Linked DNA regions of Homo sapiens: region 1 is linked to region 2. Evidence: promoter capture Hi-C in 16 types of primary human blood cells and fetal thymus (Javierre and others, 2016). All regions are on one chromosome and are shown on one strand. Each heading gives the region's core, a stretch centred on a gene start or on the middle of the fragment in contact. The rest is flanking DNA. Distances are from core to core; before and after follow the strand shown. Region 1 has its middle 30 kb from the start of ACSL3. Region 2 holds the start of ACSL3-AS1 (ACSL3 antisense RNA 1).

Region 1 (4,193 bases), core at 469-2,968, 89 kb before region 2:
TTTGGGGAAAGCTTCTTTTGCCTTTTCCCATTGTTCCACCTGGAGGAACTTCCATTAGAATAATGCATTTATCTTAGAAGTGAGTTACTTAATGGTGATAGTGAGGATTCCACACCTAGTGGTGCATGTTCCTTGATTGTGTAAAATTAATTTACTTAAAAGCTGCAAGGCTGCATTCATCAGAGATTCATTCTCTTTCCTCTCTACCAGACCAGTGCAAGGCAGTGATTCCAGATAGGTGCACCTGCCAAGGTGCTCTGTCCTACAGTTCACACTGCGTGAGATGGGCTGGAATGTTAGCCAGCCCTGCCTTTGGCTACAGGTGTAAATTCATGTTCTCCCATCAACTGCCACTTTCCCTCCATCTGTCAACTCCCTGTGTCTTATGTCTCAGTTGCTTCAGAACTCCACAGAGGAAAAAGGAAGTGGTTTGTTTGTTTGTTTGTTTGTTTTGTTTTTTTGTTTTTTTGAGATGGAATCTTGCTCTGTCTTGCCCAGGATGGAGTGTAGTTGCGTGATCTCAGCTCACTGCAGCCTCCCCTTCCCGGGTTCAAGTGATTCTCCTTTCTCAGCCTCCCGAGTAGCTGGGACTGCAGGCGTGTGTCACCACGCCCAGCTAATTGTGTATTTTTAGTAGAGATGGGGTTTCACCATGTTGGCCAGGCTGGTCTCGAACTCCTTCTGACCTCAGGTGATCCGCCCGCCTTGGCCTCCCGAAGTGCTGGGATTACAGGTGTGAGCCACCGCACCCAGGCTTCCTCCTTTCTTATCTCTGACTTCTCTCTCACTCCTGCTACCTGGGATCACCACCGATTAAACTATACCTGCAATTGAGAGGCCAAGGCTGCTGGATGGCTTGACCCCAGGAGTTCAAGACCAGTCTGGGCAACATGGCAAAACCCCATCTCTACAAAAAAGTACAAACATTAGCTGGGCATGGTGCATGCGCCTGTAGTCCCAGCTGCTCGGGAGGCTGAGGTGGGAAGATCATCTGACCCTGGGGAGGTCGAGGCTGCAGCGAGCCAAGATCGCACCTCTGCACTCCAGCCTGGGCAACAGAATGAGACCCTGTCTTAAAAAATAAATAAATAAATAAATTATCTGCACTCAAATCCTGGCTCTGCTTTTGCAGAGACCCAAACTAAGTCAATGGCAAAAGAAGATGGGATATGTACCTATTTGGAAATTAATAAAAAAGAAAAGAAAAAAAGAATCTATCCAGGTGGAGCAGACTGCTCCCTTGAGATAGACACTCCCATCCCAGCCTATCTCAGCACACACAGCAGTCTTCCTCCTTGTCATTGCCCTTGTTTAGGTCTAGCTGTCATCACCTAGGGTAAAAATAAAGCCCCTTCTTCCTCAAAACCATGCCTGTGAATCCTCGCCTTTTCTCACAGCCTGGGCTTATTATCCAGCTTCATTCTTAATTTGCGCTGTTCACTAGAATCAAGCAACTAGTTCAAGTTTAAAACAGTCTCTTATAACTGTGAGCAAACGTCAAGATCTTACTTGAGCTGAGTTATGAATACAGTGTCAAGTTCCTCTGTTGGCTTATCCTGACTTCAAACTGTTAAAGAGTATTTTCTGGCACTTACTGCTATCCTTTCCCCATTTTAGACAATAGGCTTTTTCTTTTTCTTTTTTTTTGAGGTGGAGTCTTGCCCTGTCACCCAGGCTGGAGATCTTTGCTCACTGCAACCTCCACCTCGCAGGTTTGAGTGATCCTCCCACCTTAGCCTCCTGAGTAGCTGGGATTACAGGCACTCGCCACCATGTCTAACTAATTTTTGCATTTTCAGTAGAGACGAGGTTTCGCCATGCTGGCCAGGCTGGTCTCGAACTCCTGACCTCAGGTGATCCACCTGCCTCGATCTCCCGAAGTGCTGGGATTATAGGCATGAGCCACCACGTCTGGCCATGGCTTTTTCTTTTAGATCCTAACCCTTAAGTTTTCCCTAGACCACTCTTCCTCTTCATTCTTTAGTTTGGGTTATTGCCATTGGGTACCTTTTAGGGTTTTTGTAGATACACACACACACACACACACACACACACACACACACACACACACACAGAGAGATAATCATGCATCATTTAATGGTAGGGATAAGCTCTGAGAAAGGCATCATTAGGTGATTTTATAGTTGTGCAAACATCATAGCATGTACTTACACAGACCTTAGTGTTATAGCCTACTGTGCACCTGTGCACAGGATATATGGTGTAACCTATTGCTGCTAGGCTACAACCCCGTATAGCATGTTAAAAACACAGATCCCAAACCATATCAGATGGGCTGCCACACAGGTGCAAAAGGCCCCATTTCACAGAGAGCCCTGAAGCTGGATGGCTCTTCAGAGTTGTCCCAATGCTCGGCCTTGATGAGCTCCTGACAGACCAGTCGTTGGATGCAGGCTGCTCTGGAAAGAGATGGTGACCTTGGGTGTGGCGGGTTGACTCAGTCCAGGTAATTCCTAAAGAGGGCTGACAGCTGAGAGCTGTTGGCTTCCAACATTCCCAGCAGCTGAGGAAATAAATCCTTCATCCCCGAAGGAGGGAGTAGGAATCTGGGAAGCGTGGCACCTGGAAGTCTACACTCTTCCACTCCTAAGTCTCTACCAATCACTAAATCCTCACCCTAATCTCTGCCTAGAGATCTTCAGGTTAAAAATCAGAGATCTAGCATCGTCTCAAAAAACAAACAGAAAAACTTGTAAAAATTCTGGTACCAGATAGTCCTTTTTTCTTTTTTTTTTTTTTTTTTTGAGACAGAGTTTTGTTCTTGTTGCCCAGGCTGGAGTGCAATGGTATGATCTCAGCTCACTGCAACCTCCACATCTCGGGTTCAAGATATTCTCCTGCCTCAGCCTCCCAAGTAGCTGGGATTACAGGCACGCGCCACCACACCTGGCCAATTTTGTATTTTTAGTAGAGATGGGGTTTCTCCATGTTGGCCAGGCTGGTCTCAAACTCCTGACCTCAGGTGATCCACCTGCTTTGGCCTCCCAAAGTGCTGGGATTACAGGCGTGAGCCACGGCGCCCAGCCAATAGTCCTATTTTCTTAAGAAAAGCCCTTTTTTTAAATGATGTCTGATGTTCAGACATCAACCCTTTTATTTGTAAATTAACGTCTATGTTCCAAAACACATTTCCGATGCCCTAAGCATTCTTTTCCAGATGCACCAAACTTTGTGAAATCTGTAGGAAATGAAAACTTGATTTCAAAAATAAACCTTGAAGCAATTTGAAAATAAAGAGGACATTCCATTTGAACCAATGCTAAGAGTTAAGCAGACCCACAGGTGCTGTGAACAAAAGTTCTTCAGAGTTCTTCAGAATTCGAAAAGATTGTAATAACAGATATCCTAGAGTGTGTGGCAGAATTTTAAAGTAGCTTAAGGAATACTCAGCAGGCTTCCAGCTAAAAGCTTATATGTTCTTTTTTCCCCTGAATTTAGAGTACATTCTAGGACCATTCAGACTTTATGAATTGATGTGAAGTCAGGGATGCAAGCCCACCTGAGGGTATGAACAACTCAATGTTAAGTCAGAGTTTGGGGCCGGACGTGGTGGCTCACACTTGTAATCCCAGCACTTTGGGAGGCCGAGGCAGGCGGATCACCTGAGGTCAGGAGTTCAAGACCACCCTGGCCAACATGGTGAAACCCCGTCTCTACTAAAAAAATACAAAAAATTCGGCACGGTGGTGCTTGCCTGTAGTCTCAGGTACTCAGGAGGCTGAGGCAGGAGAATTGCTTGAACTCGGGAGGCAGAGGTTGCAGTGAGCCAAGATCACACGACTGCACTCCTGCCTGGGCAACAGAGCGAGACTCTGTCTCAAAAAAGAAAATAAAAAGTCACTGACTGTTAGGGGTGGGCTGTGTTCTGCCTCCCCTCCACAAAAGATATGTTGGAGTCATAATCCCTTGTACCTCAGGATGTGACCTTATTGGGAGATACAGTTTTTACAGAGGTAATCAGGTTAAGATGAAGTCACTAGTGTGAAACCTAATCCAGTATCACTGGTGTCCTTATAGAATAGAGGAATTTGGACACAGAGTCACCATCTACAAGCCAAGAAACCCCTGAGGGTATTAGAAGCTGGGAGAGAGGATGCGAAACAGATTCTGTCTTATATTCCCCAAAAGGAACCAATCCTGCTGCCACCTTGATTTCAAACTTGTAGCCTCCA
Region 2 (4,107 bases), core at 1,268-3,767:
TCCACCTTTTCTTTTTCTTTTTTTTGAGATGGAGTCTCACTCTGTCGCCAGGCTGGAGTGCAGTGGCACAGTCTCAGGTTACTGCAGCCTCTGCCTCCCGGGTTCAAGCAATTCTCCTGCCTTAGCCTCTCGAGTAGCTGGGACTGCAGGCGCATGCCGCCATGCCCGGCTAATTTTTTGTATTTTTAGTAGAGATGGGGTTTCACCCTGTTGGCCAGGATGGTCTTGATCTCCTGACCTTGTGATCCGCCCACCTCGGCCTCCCAGAGTGCTGGGAATATAAACGTGAGCCACCGTGCTAGGCCTCCTACACCTTTTCTTTTAAACAAACATTCCATTTTTGTTGTCACAGGTTTGGATTTACATTGTTTCTTTTGAGGAGCTTTAAAAGAATTATTTTCAAAGTCATTTTGTGTATCTTTTTTGAGTTAGGCAGAAAGTAAATAAAAATCTACACTATTCATGTTATGTAATTTCAGCATTTCAGAGAATGTTTGTCTTTAGATATTTTTGCTTGAGAATAAACGGTACTGCCACTTGTTTGTGCTCTTTTCTTGACATACACCGTAAATCTGACATTCAGTGTGTCATCCTATTTGTATATGTTCTTTTTCACATTGTAAAGCCAAGTGGCCAACAATTAAGAATTTGAAGTCTTAGAAATCAGTTATAATTCCTTCACAATGTGGTAGTCCCAGAGTAACATCTGTAAGTGAAACAAAATAAAAATTTAAATATCTTCATCTTTAAAAATTGGAAATCTTGGGGCATTTAGGGGAGGATGAGTAGGTGTAATGTTGATTAGTATGATAAGATAACTTTAAAAAACATAACACTTATAGACTGTGGATTTAACAGTTTAGGGCTCCTAATGCGTTATTATGATTCATCTCCACATTCAGAGACTTTACATTTGTAGTTAAATGTTTGAATATTTGACTGGCTGCTGCTTTTCCTTTTAGTTGTTACATTATATGCCACTCTAGGAGGTCCAGCCATTGTTCATGCATTAAATGAAACAGAGGTGACCAACATCATTACTAGTAAAGAACTCTTACAAACAAAGTTGAAGGTGAGGACTCTAGTTACTTTCTAACTGTCTGATACTTTAGAATTTTCAGTGTCATGAGCCCTATTATTGATACTTAGTTCTTTTATGACTTTTAAGTCCTTAATCTTTGTGGACTTTTATGAATATCATACTTTATTTTTTCCTTTAGAAAATAAAAAGTAGATTTTGTATATATTCATGTATAAGTAATCCAGAGTTATAAATTGTTAAGATGCCTATGTTTAAATTGAAGAAATTACGACTACTTTTTCTCTTATTGTGCTCATCTATTTTCTAGTTTACTTTTAGTAAATTTGTAATTTTGAAGGGTTATATTTTAAACTAGTAATTTTTATTTTACTTCTGAAGCATTAAGTAATTACAAGTTTTCAGAATTGTTTGGAAGTTAAAAAGGGAGACTTTTAATTATATTACAGTAAAAAGAGTTTCTTTGGTCTCTAGACAACTCCCAGAAATATCTGGGCTATTCTATATGGGGGAAGGAGGAGAAAATTCACATGTAAACTTGTTCAAAAAGAAAATTTTGAACAAGTTTGCATGTGAATTTTCTCCTCCTTCCCCCATATATTTTTATGTAGTCTCTTGAAAATATGAGGGGCTTCTGGTTTCTCTACAGTTTAGGCAACCTGTGTTTACATGCCCGTTTTATAAGGCAGTACCCTTCTTGATCAGGGTTTTACCAAAGGCCAAGGGTACACACAGTGAATCTAATGCTATAAAATAATAATTTAAATTCAGACCAATACTTAATCATCTGTAAAAAGTGATATTATGCCAGTGTACCCTTTCTTCTTTCTTTTTTGAGGCAAGAAATTACTTAATGATTCACCGAATATGGTAAACTAGTATTCTTATTCGCTAAGCTGCTTGAAAAATAATGAACGTGATGAATGTTGGTGTATTTCTAGGATATAGTTTCTTTGGTCCCACGCCTGCGGCACATCATCACTGTTGATGGAAAGCCACCGACCTGGTCCGAGTTCCCCAAGGGCATCATTGTGCATACCATGGCTGCAGTGGAGGCCCTGGGAGCCAAGGCCAGCATGGGTATGTTACACTTTTCTAATTCCTTACCTGTGCTTTCTGGTGACCACATTCTCCAGAATTATGCCAAAGTTTTGATTCTGAGGTTAGCTCAAATGACACATCAGTTTTCTAACATCAGTTAGGAAAACAGGTCCCTCTAGGTATACTTTCATCTTGTCTTTAAAGAAAGTTTTAAGGAAAAATATAAACATTAATTATTAATGTTTTAAAGGTAGTATTTATTTGAAATTTAAAATATTTTACATTCAGTTTTCATTTCTTTTTTATGGTGATAGTTTTGGGTGGTTTAAAGTTAGTTTATAAATAATGACATTTATCTTGTCCTATGTGAATTACCTGTAAGTGTTAACAGAGTGGCTAAACCTGGAGGCCTCCTTTTACTCCCTGTTCCAGTTCTTCCCTTTCCTGAGGTGAAAACCTTACCCTCCAACTAGCACACCTAGGCATGGTGACTCTACAAGTTCCTATTCTCAAAAAAGCGTCAGAAAATGTTAGCTAGTGTACTAGTGTTTAGAGATACTGCAAAAGCTGCTGGGATGCTGGGACTGCATTTCCTCTGTAGTTGGAAACCTAGTAATTAGATGTAAGCATTCACTCAACTCAAATTTTAGGCACCTGGAATTTGAGTGGTAGTGGGATATTTAGATGCAGATATATTGTGGACAGTGGTGTGTAAAAGTCTAGTACTCGAGTTATGTTTGGACTTAGAGATTTGGAAGCTAGAAGCAGTTAGGTTTTAATTATAGCTGTGGGAGTAGGGGGTGAGGTCACCAACAGGGAATGGTGGCTTCAGAGGCTACTAAGGACTAGTCAGAGAGGAAAGAAGAAAATATCTAGTAGTATGTGGTTCCTGGAAGCCAAGGGAAAGGAGATCTTGGTGAGTCATCAGCAGGATCAGGGGCTGCATGCAGAGGTCAGATGACACAAGGATTGTAATTTCCAAGAAGTGGTGGTGTTGGAGAAGGGTGCTGTGCATTGAAGGAGTGAAGGGCTGATTTGGAAGTAAAGACTTCCAAGTGTAAACATTATTTAAGAAATGTATCTTGACTGACAGGAGAGGAAGGGTATTCTATTGGGAGTACATTTAAATAATTTTTTCACACTCATTTAGAAGTTCACATGTAGAGTAGTTCTGGGAGTGGTTCAGACATATCAGCAATGCCAACCATGACCTATTTCTCTTTGTTCTTCTGCTGTGCCACCTCTATAGCTTCTCAGCTGTTGTCCTTAGGCTGGTACTCTTCTGATTTCAAATGGTTCACATCGTGTTTTAATGCAGGACTCTGAGTGTAACCAAGTTAGTCACCATTCTGAAGCAGTGAATAGTTTTTAGCAAACACCTAGATACTCTAGTCCAAAGCTACCTTTATTTCTTAGTTGAATTACTGGGATAATCTTGTCTCCCTGATACCTTTTTTCCCCTTGTAAAGTTAGTTAGCCACACAGCAGCCAAAGTGATCTTTTTTTTCACAGATAATAACATACTCCTGTTCAAAACAACATTGCTTTACATCCAGAACGTAATCCAGAGTTCTTCCCGTGGCCTTTGAGGTCCTATGTGTGGTCCCTGATAGCCACTTGACTATTGTTTCTTGCCACTCTTCCTCTTGCTCACTCTGTTCCAGCCACACTCCTTGCTGGTCTTTAGATATGCTGAGCACATTCCTACCTTTGGGTCTTTGCATTTGCTTATTTCCTTCTAATTAGAACACTCTTCTCCCAGTTCCAGGGTTTCCATGGCTCCCTTCCTCACTTTATTCAGGCCTTTGCTAAACGAAACTCTACAGAGACGGTCTCCAGGCTTTTCCATCCAAATAGCATCTATTGTCATCTTCTCACCTTGTCTTGCTTCAGTTTTCTTCATAGGTTAATCTGTTTGTATATCTCAATAGAATATATCTCCCATACGTGCAGGGACTTGATCTGTTTTGTTGATCTCAGTATAACTAATATTTGTTGAATTGAGTTAAATTAACTCAATTTGATTG

The links. Contacts are between HindIII fragments. The CHiCAGO score rates a contact against its expected background, and 5 or more counts as called.
Region 1: a contact is called between a fragment that was not itself captured here and the fragment with the promoter of ACSL3-AS1 in region 2, in 1 of 17 cell types (neutrophils). The highest score is 5.5, in neutrophils.

Annotation. Positions count from the first base shown.
Region 1 is chr2:222,829,064-222,833,256 of GRCh38, forward strand. No RefSeq gene overlaps it. Among named protein-coding and RNA genes, the nearest start is that of ACSL3, 30 kb to the right of the region's middle. The HindIII fragment of the contact is 3,418 bases long and covers 10-3,427 here.
Region 2 is chr2:222,917,084-222,921,190 of GRCh38, forward strand. ACSL3-AS1 (ACSL3 antisense RNA 1) reads right to left here and starts at 2,518. Exons shown (of 3, transcript XR_923949.3): 1 at 2,456-2,518; 2 at 2,147-2,276; 3 at 1-706. ACSL3 (acyl-CoA synthetase long chain family member 3) reads left to right here. Exons shown (of 17, transcript NM_004457.5): 6 at 963-1,072; 7 at 1,981-2,119. The HindIII fragment of the contact is 9,982 bases long and covers 1-4,107 here.